Regions from separate parts of the Homo sapiens genome. Here region 2 is linked to region 1. The links are contacts of gene promoters, found by promoter capture Hi-C in blood cells and fetal thymus (Javierre and others, 2016). All regions are on one chromosome and are shown on one strand. Each heading gives the region's core, a stretch centred on a gene start or on the middle of the fragment in contact. The rest is flanking DNA. Distances are from core to core; before and after follow the strand shown.

Evidence for each region. Contacts are between HindIII fragments. The CHiCAGO score rates a contact against its expected background, and 5 or more counts as called.
Region 2: a fragment that was not itself captured here is called in contact with the fragment with the promoter of CHM in region 1 in 1 of 17 cell types (non-activated CD4 T cells); the score reaches 5.9 in non-activated CD4 T cells.

The regions. Positions count from the first base shown.
Region 1 is chrX:86,045,144-86,050,449 of GRCh38, forward strand. It overlaps CHM (CHM Rab escort protein), which reads right to left and starts at 2,415. Exons shown (of 15, transcript NM_000390.4): 1 at 2,341-2,415. The coding sequence starts at 2,389. The HindIII fragment of the contact is 19,030 bases long and covers 1-5,306 here.
Region 2 is chrX:85,879,722-85,885,027 of GRCh38, forward strand. The region is part of intron 12 of CHM (CHM Rab escort protein); the gene reads right to left. Among named protein-coding and RNA genes, the nearest start is that of MIR361, 21 kb to the right of the region's middle. The HindIII fragment of the contact is 886 bases long and covers 1,321-2,206 here.

The sequences.
Region 1 (5,306 bases), core at 1,165-3,664:
TCTTCATGTTTCTGATGCATGCATTATTGCTTCTACTTTTATTAATACAACTGAATCTATGAAACACTGCTTTTTCTATGATTTGCTCAATGTAATACATTTAATAAAGCAAACATTTTAAAGGCTACTTTCAGCAAACTATTTCACAAGAGAAATATCCCAAGCACACTAAAAAATAAATCAAATTAAATCATGATTGGAATTGTTGGAATCATTTATTTGGGGAATGACTCTTTTATTCAATTTTTACACTTTTGATGTACCTAAAAGCAAAATTACATATCATAAATTTAAGCAATGTGCTTGATAAAACCTAGAATGTGTCACCAATAAACAATATGAAAAATTTAAGTTTTAAGATTAACTTCAAATAAGTTCTTCCCAAACACTGAAAAATAACATTGCACTCACTGGGATAAGTATAAAATGAGTATTTTTCCAAATATAAGCGATGTCACCTGATGCAATTCTCTGGCTCACTCACTGTAACTTCCTACCTCTACCATAACAGACTCCATCAGGATGGATGTCTTCCAATTCTGAACTGTACAGAAGGCAAAATATTTATGAAAAACATTAGCATCATTCATAAGAATTAACATTCATCAATTAAAATTTGAACCCAGACCTGAAAAAAAAAATTGTTGATTAAAAAAATTGTTAAAAACACCTCAAGTTCCTACACAAAAAAAGCAAGATTATAAAACTCAAGTATGGTATAACAACTATTCCAAAATGGATGCTGTTCTCAGTTTTAGTATAGACTTAAAAGAAAAAATGAATAGTCCATTGGCTCTTTCCAGCTCTCATCCAACATCTGTTCATAGCAGCTACAACCAGGTTATTTGCAGCCATGCAGTTATTTTCAGGCTAAGAATAAACCTGTCCATGCTGTTCTGAGAACTGTTACCCAGGCATTTTTTGTTAGACAACATAAAGACCATCTATTTTACCTTCCTTATATTCAAAAACAAGGAAACTGAGGCTCAGAGAGATTTAGTGCCTGGCCCTCCCAATTCAAGCAATTCATACTAGCACTAAGCAAGACCTAAAACCAAGTTTTCTCAATTGTTTCTACGAATATGGGTCAACTCTGAGGATCAGAACCACTGACTGTTTTCCTGGGATGGAATGGGCCTTTGGAAATTTACCAGCTGTGTGATCCTGAGCAAATTACAACTTTTCCAAGTCCCCTTTTCCTCTTCTACAAAATGCAGAGAGTACCTACTACTCTAACAAGGTTGTGAGGATTATGTTCGGCTTGTAAAGTGCTTAGCACAGTGATTAGGAAATTTTAAGCATTCGAAAACAGGTAGCTATTATTTTTACTCCCAACCTGAAAACATGGCTGCTCCTAATCATGGCTGTATGAGAAGACAACGAACTGAATTCATTAACACAATGGACAGGGTCCCATCCACCAGAGCTTCTCTGGCCTACCACATTCTACAAACAGTAAAAAACCCCATCAAACAACCTATTTCATTCCATCTAAAATGATCATCCCTTACACTATTAAAAAAAATTGAAATTGCTGCCATATGTGTTCTGCTACGTGTTGTACACTGAATATGTCAACTAGAAACTGCAGAGGAGTTTCTGGTTCCACCCAAAACATGAAGAACAAACGACGGGAAAACAAGAGTTAGATAAGGTCACACACCTGAACTGGAACTCAGGACCTTATTCTCAGCACATTTAGTTATTGATGGTAGAAAGCAAGATGCTTTAAGCACCATAAAGCAGGAATAATGGCTACCTCAACAAAATAAAATTCCCTAGGTTTCTCAACAAAATAGAATCCGTTTACTTTCCCTAGTAAATTCATACGCACATGGGCAATAATTGAGCATCTTTCTTGTAAAACTGAGGATTAAGCTGTGTCTGAGCTGCGATGTATGCTAAGATCATACAAATCTATGAAAAAGTCCTATGAAATGGCGAGACAAAATGATGGGGAATATCACCTTGAAATCAATAAGGAAGGAATCATAATGTCTTGCCAAAGTCGTCTCCGTTGATAAAATCCCGACCCTCCATTTCATGACACTGCACATCCACTTCCCTCTAAGGAAATTAACAGGAATCACCGCAGCAACCAACCTCAGCAATCAGCATCGACCAGATCAACCCCTACTCAAATGGCGATAAGCACTGCGGGTCCCAGCCCCTCCCTGTAACTGCCAACTCCCGCGCTGACTCCGGACTACCTCACTTCCTTTCAGTTCTCCCTCCCACTCTCGACCCACGATGTTTGTCCCAAAACTCGCCACTGACAGAAAAAACAGAAACAAGACAGTCTTCCTAAACTTTGTCCAGGAAGCACCAGGCTACACATACCCGTCCCTATTACGATCACATCAAACTCCGAAGGGAGAGTATCCGCCATCTTGACGGGAAACGTGTCATGTGACTATTACTTGTGGAAATGAGATCAAGTTAGGCATTCCCTCCGTGGAAGGCGGAAAAGAAAACAGTGCATTCTGGGTGTTGTAGTTCTTGGGTGGAAGGTCCAGGCAGGCGACTACAGTATTATATTTAAAATGTTTACACGTAAGTTAAAAGCTCGACTCATTTTCCAGGCTGAATGCTGTAGCTCATTTAGCCTGGAGGGTTGAAGTAGGAAAGAAATGTAGATTTTTATTCCGTTAGCTAGGATGAATGTGGGAGACTTGGATACCCCTTGACAATACTGAAGCAAAATTGTTAGGAGACACGGAGAGCGGAGTGAAATTGAAGGCGGTTTGCTCTGTGAACAAAGGAGACTTTCATTCCAGCCTAAAAAACTGTTTCCCGCCATCGTTTCTGTACTTTCGTGTTGGCCCTCGAGGCATGGTTTTTCACACCAATACTTTCAGAATATATTCCATATCTTTTTCGTTTCCATGTCTCCTCGATGAAAACCCACAAAAAACCTCTCACCCTAGTTTCGCCAGAATGGAACTCCCACCGCGTCCGTATTTGTTCCAGTTAGTCCAGACAGCCACTCGGGCAATAAATTAGCCTTGCTTTACAGGAGGGAAAAAATATATGAAAGCATGGTTGCGCTGGATAAGCGTCTGTTGAGTCTGAATTCGATTTTCCGCACCAACTAGATAAGTTCATGTAAGATTCTCCTTAGTTTACATTTAGTTTCCAATCTATTAGTTTCCATAAGCTACCGTAGAAATAATTAAGGTAAAATGGTCTTTATATTAAAGTGATTGTATCTGATGAGGGGCTTTAGGTCGTCTATGTCTAACAGCTAACATAGCTCTCATAAGTATCTTCAAGGTCTGTCGCCTCCCACCGCTTCCCTCCAACCGCCCCCCACCCTGCCCCCGATTATTTAATACTCCGCTGTCTGACAACACCAAAGCAAAAGGGGAAGGATGCTGGGAATGAAGGAGGATACTTTTTTGACGACAGAAATTTCTTGTGTAGTTATTTTACAAGAGTTTCAAAATAAATCAAAGATAATGTGCAGTAGTGGGCCTTCCCTGACACCACCTATCCGCTAAGATGCTTGTGGTTCCCCAGACATTGTTTTCTTTCCAGTCTCTGACCACGCTCATGCTGTTCTTTCAGCATGGAATGATCTTCCCATTCTCTAGCTAACAGTTATTCCCAGGATGTCGCTGGGCTTCCACCTCCTCCTCCTTTCGTCTCCGTGTGTGGGCTGTTTCCCTACATGGTGCTAGACTTTGTCTTAACCCGCCATACTGCATTTATGACGATTCCTATAGAGTACACATATCCCCATATATCCACACAAAAATACACACCCAGACATGCAATACCATAATTATAAACCCCTGTACAGCATGACAGACACCAAGTCTCATTTATCTTTTTCACTCCTGCACCTAACCTAAGCCCGGTGCATAGTAGGAATTTAATAAATGTTTGCTAAACCAAACTTGATTTTGACTCCCCTAATAGATGGATGAGACGAGTCCCTGTCCTCATAGTGCTTACCATCTTTGCCTTTATATCTGCCCACCACTATCATGTGTCTTATATTTAGAAGATGTTCAGTGTCCATTAATTGTAAATATTTACATGAAAATGCTTTAAAATGTATTTTGATACGCTTTTTACTGCATTTCTCTTGCATTTTACCATAATCATTAGCAACATTGTACATGTTTCATTACTTTCTTTTATAGATCATCCAGTTGTATTACACAACTCTCTTAAGATATGGTCTTTGATTAGTATTTTCTGTAAAACAGATTCCCCTGAGAAGTATAATGTACTGTTCAGTAAACCACTTTGTCATTTGCCTTGGTATGTAAAGCAAGTTTTTAGTATTATCAGAAGTGAAACAGATATTATTTGTGAGACTCTTGATAAGACAGTAGAAAATGGAAACAAATGGATTTCTCAGAGTAAACACAGAAAACTTTCCAAAATCTTCTCTAATAATGAGAAGCCACAGATGGATGGTTAAAAACCTGATAAATAAAAGTATTTCTACCATACTTTGGATATATATTTATATACATTTGTTCATGTATACGAGATATATAAACTACATACATATACTTTTCAATATGAGTATCACTGACCTTCTAGGGATTCAGAAATTTTCTGACAATCACACCATGAAGATGCAATTCATTAATTTGTTTATTCCTCAAATATTCATTCAGCACCTACTATGTGCAAGACACTATTTTGGATGCTGAGATTAGAGCAATGAACAAAACAGACAACAACCCCTGTCTTCATGAAGTTTACATTTAGTAGGGTAAAACAAAATAAACAAGTAATTACTCTGTAGCATAGATTTTCCAATCTGTGCTGCCCTTAGTTTGAAACCTTCTTTTTTTCCCCTAAGGATAGAAAGCACAATCCTCAGAAGGATAATATTACCAACTTATATTTTGCTGTTCTTTCTCTAAAGTTATTATGGGACTTATTCATGCCCTTTTCTGGGCATGGAAAAGATTACTACATTAGGAAAATTTCAATCTTGTGCATGGAGAAAATGCTCCAAATACCTTTTATTTCAAATGTATTTTTGTAGACTTTATGCAAAGTAAAGATGAATATAGGAGTTAATAATTGCAGTAAAAAAAGCGTAAAGCAAAACAGCTGAATTGCATCTATTCTGTTATTCTAAGGACATCTTTTTTTTTTTTTTTTTTTTTTTTTGAGACGGAGTCTCTCTCTGTCGCCCAGGCTGGAGTGCAGTGGCGCCATCTCCGCTCACTGCAAGCTCCGCCTCCCGGGTTCACGCCATTCTCCTGCCTCAGCCTCCCGAGTTGCGGGGACTACAGGCGCCCGCCACCACACACGGCTAATTTTTTGTATTTTTAGTA
Region 2 (5,306 bases), core at 514-3,013, 170 kb before region 1:
GTGAAGAAAGAATAAAGAGTTCTGTGTTTTGCAATAAAGGAGTAAAGGGACCTCCAAATGACAGAAGTTCTTATGGTCCTGTTATTTGGGATGAGATACAATAATGGCAGAAAGAATATATTAGAGAACAGTAAGTACCAGTACCGAGAAATTCCTCCCCCCACTATATTAGTAGGGGGAGAAAGATACACCCACTTCTCTTCCAATAGTTTATTTCAGACTACTAGAATTTTTTTTTTAAACTCCAGGAAGATAGTTCAAATTTTATCATGAAAGCCAACATCAGAATAAGATTCTCATTATCAAAATTTATTCTACATTCAACTACTTTAAAATATATCTAAGCATAAATTGAGGGACTCTAATAACCATGGAACTAAAATCAAATGTTGTAGGTTTTTCCCTCCCAGGTCCACTAAAGGAAGTATATTTTCGGATGGTTCCTGAATTACTTATGGCCTAATAATAGGTCTACCTTATTTAAGCATTGTTTTCACATGAATTTAACAATGATTCTCATTGGTTCTGGGATACTGTAGGATGTATGGTACTAATTATTTCCAAAGATATAATGAGCTTCATAACAAAAATTATTTTGGTTAACTTTTTTCAAATGCTGTATAGCATTAGTTGGGATGAGACTTAATCCTCCTAGATAATTACTGAAGTAAACAGGGTATGCAGTTACAAAGGTCAGCAATCCATAGGAGATAATCTATCCTGTCTCTTATTTCAAAATCTCGTGAAATACCAATGCCCAAAGTTCTCAATTTTCCAGTTTTTTGCTTGTTTGTTAATGTTTATTTGGGAAAAAGCAGATGAACCTGGACATAAATAAGTATATTTTGGAAAATATCTTAATGGGTAAACTATTGGTTCTGTTAAACAGGACATATATTTTAAAGAGATACACTTAAGTTAGTATATCATTATATTTCTTAGCAACATAACAGACAGTTCAGGTTATGCTAGGAAAAATGTCTAGTAGTGAAGTAAGATTATCATCTCATGATTAATGAGTTTTATAACAATTCTTACAAAGACATTCATAAGCTGAATTATAATCCCTATACATTGACTTTGCTTAGAGGCTACATTGTTAATTGATCTATTAATACAAATTTAAGGTATGAATAACTACTTTTTCCCCTTACCGTTCCTGCTTTTCCTGTTACCTAGGTCACCTTCTAGTATAGATTACTGAATTCATTTTGGTTCTCTTCAAATCAGAGATTGCTGATTGTGCTCTTTTTAAAATTCATTGATTCTCAACATTTGTTTATTAATCTTAATATATCTTGTAAGTCCTTTGCAGGGGCAAGCTTTAGAGTCGATTTTTCTCCTTTTTGTTAAATACAACTTTTACTTAGAGTGGGTATTCAATAAATGTTAATTATAATTTGTCTCACTGTCACGGACAAACATCAAGTATTCCTGTGTTTAAATAGATATGCATTCCCATACCAATAGATCTATGTGTACATATTCATGGGGAAATTCTGATTAGTTTCTTGTATAAAATTTGGGAAATTATCTGATTTACCAGGAAAGAGGAAAGGGAAGTACCAATTGATAATCTCAAATTATTTAAATCTGTCTGAGAAATGCTTATAAACACATTAAGATATATCTATAAAATTCTCAAAATACATTTAAGAGAATATCTAGAGTTGACTGTACAAATAACATGCATGTGTTAGACACTATTTTAAGCATGCTACAAGTATCATTTCACTTTACTTGTGCAACAGCAAACTGTTATTCTCATTTTACAGATGAGAAAACAGGGATGGGGGGCTATGCAGATTTCCTAAAGTCATGCAATTAGTAGAAGGAAGGGCTGGGACTCAGAGCTCGAATTGAAGCCCATATGGCCTGCCTGCAGAGTGTCTGCCTTTAGTCACTAAATTATATTATGTGATTCTAATAATCTCCTGCAGAAGGCACAGTCAGTCACTTAAGTCAGCAGCATTCAAACTGGGATGTGTGTGAGGATACAAGAGGACTTTTCACAAGTTATATCACCTACAAGGGGGTTCTCATACAGATGCTCAGCTCCACCTCTCCTACTTCATTCAGTGAAATTTTACTTATTCTGTTTAATATTTATTTACCAAAACTGTAATATATTTATGACAGTTAGATTAATTCTGTAGAAATAATAATTGCATTAATTACTAAATCCAGAAGAAAGTTTTAGATTAGAAGCTTATTGCCCTAGAAAGTTTCAAAAAAATTCTATTTCCATTTATTTTTTTAAATGGGTGATGGGTATCAAATATCCCTGATACTTAGATTCCACTGAATACATTTAAATGACTGATGTTATAATTTTACTATAAGTCAATATTTACGATGTTAGAAATTATATTCTTTGCAATTATTTGACTCTTCTGATGAAAAACTGTGTATGTCAACTTGTAAAGGGTTCAAGGGATAAATGAGCAAAAAGTCTGAAGACCTTAAGGGTATAAGGTAAACTCAAAACCAAACATGTAGAACATGCTATCACATTTCTACTGAAATTCAATTATGTAAAATACTTCTTTGCATCTATGTGACTTTAATTCTTCTCCAAATAATGAACTTGCTCAATACAGGCCAACAACGACCACAAATTAGATCATACAGGGTAAATGCTTTCCTAAAAGTATTACGTTTCATTAGTACCAATTGACAACTATCACTAAGATTGTGGAAGATGCAATACAAGTGGAAACATTTCCCACAGGCACCATGTGAGATAACTGAACAAAAAAAAAATTAATATCTTTTTATAAACTATGCTCCTTTGACTTCATTTAGCAACTGCTTAAAGGCTTAATGAGCTAAAAATGGCCAAAGACTTAATGAAAAAATGTGTTTTCTATCACAATCCCTCTTTTGGCAATACACTTAGATTTGTATTGGCATTAAAGAAATCTTAGTGCAAAATAAGTTTTAATTTAGAAGTGAGAAGTAACAACACAAAACTAGAAATAACAACACACTTTCAGTTCTCCAAAACTGCCTTTGGAATGCTGATCGCTCTTACGAGTTGTTTTGAAACACATGAGAAGTAGGATTTCTGCTCAGAATGTGCACAATAATGAGCACATTTAAAAGTAACAAGTCCAATGTACAGTAGCAGAGTGACATACTATAGGATGATTACGTGGGTCTGGTATTACGTCAGCTCTCTATATCTACTTGGCCAAGTCAGTTTTTCTCTCTGGCTTCAGTGTCCTCATAATTAAAATGAAGGGGTGCAATTAGTCCATCTTTAAGACCTCTTCCGGTCTCAAATTTACGAAGCTAATTCCTTACTCACCAGCTACAATTCTTTCAATGATGACAGATTTTAAATCAAAACGGATGGCATTACAAATGTGAATGTAAAACCTAAGTAAATGCTTGCTGTAAAAGGTAGGAAATCTATTCCTCAAGCTTCTGAGGTTACCACATACAGCAGTCATTCACTCTATACAAGCAGGCAAAATTGTTCCAAATGCATTTAAAGAATCTTTATTTATAGGCTAGTCAGCAAGTAGGCTTTGTTGTGTAACCTAACTAGAAATATGTAATTAATTTACATAGAGATCAATGTGGCTGGTAACATATCTTTCATATAACTATAAAGGCCACATGTACTTTATGTAATATAGCACAAATGAGGATATGACTGTATCAATAAAACAGAGAACCTCAGAGACACACTTTCTCTATGGTAGCAAGTAAGGAACTGAGTTTGATGATATATGACACACAATTTAATTTTTTAATTCAACTATGAAAAAGTCTATAGTCGGCTTATACTTTCTCAGTAGAATTTAAGAACTCCAGAACATCACCTTAAGATCAGGAAGAAAAATTAGTTTACATATAATAAAATCAAATCTTTGTTTTGTGATAATACTAACAATAATAATTTGAAATGTCACATTTTCAAAAAGCAAATGAAAAAGGCACTGATAATTGTTTTAAATCAATATCTAACTCATTTTTATAAAAGGTATATAGCATTTTAAAACTAGGGTCACAAAAGCAGAAAAAGTATATAAACCAGTACCTACATGAAATTCTGGATTATTACATACATCATATATATATTTCACATTATATATTCACAAATATATAATCATATCACAGATAACTAACATCCTGTAACATCAAATCCCAGAATAAAACAGCTGTTATTGCCTGATTAGTATGTACGAAAAAAATTCAAAATGTCTAGTGTATGAGTAAGTACTGCAAAGAACATGAAAATGAATGTCGAATGGAAGGGCTGCAAAGATAATGTTTTGTTCATTTACAAATGACTTTAAAAGAAAGTAAATCTCATATTAAATTCACTTAGGATATAAGATGAATAGAAATAAATATATTGGGTATGTCCTGAAAGATGAACTCTGTGAAAAAAAATATGGCTTGTTTAGCTTTGAAAAACACAATAAACAAATACATTTCAGTTATTTAACAATCCCAGTAACTTGAACCAAATTAGCTGAGGGGAGGAAAATTTAAGTGGACTTATAGATTTTACAAAACATAACTTTACTACTTTAAAAAAAGATGCAATAACGATGCTAACCCAAAGTTGCTTAGAAAAACCCCTGCATTACTGGATAATCATGATTTCCTATCAGTCTATCAAAATATCAGCTTAAGTAACATTGATACTAATAACGGTCCTGAGGCAGATAGTATCATTATTCCTATTTCACAGATAGGAAAGCTGAGGCACATAGAAATTAAGTAACTTGCCTAAGGTTAGTCAAGTAGTTAGTAAAAACTGGGATTTGAACTTAGCCTATGTTCTCCACCACTATAAGGTAGTATGTTAATGAAATGTACCTCCCTTGTTTATTGAACTATTTATTTGCCTTTCAAGAACCTTTCATATATACTATTCCCATATGATGTGAAGGTAAACTTCAGTGGCATACGTATGATTTTACAAATTCTAAATCAAACCAAATTTAAGGCAATGTGACATCTATGAAAAGTCATTAAAGAGAATAAAAAGTATAAGTGAACTCTGAGGTAGTTTTATGTCTTAAGCACATTCTTGAGCACACACTTAAGACTACATACAGTACAGTATTTGCATAGCACAGGATTAAAAATAAAAAGTGTAAAAAGTGTGATTTGTATAAAGAAAAAAGTGGTTGAGAAGTTGAAAACACTGAGAATTATACATTTTATCTTATTACATGACATCTAAAACATTAAGATTTAATGTTTTATATATTATACGCCACTGTGACACAGTAATTAAATAATATTTAATATAAAGTGCCACAATATTAGTCAAACCTGATTAG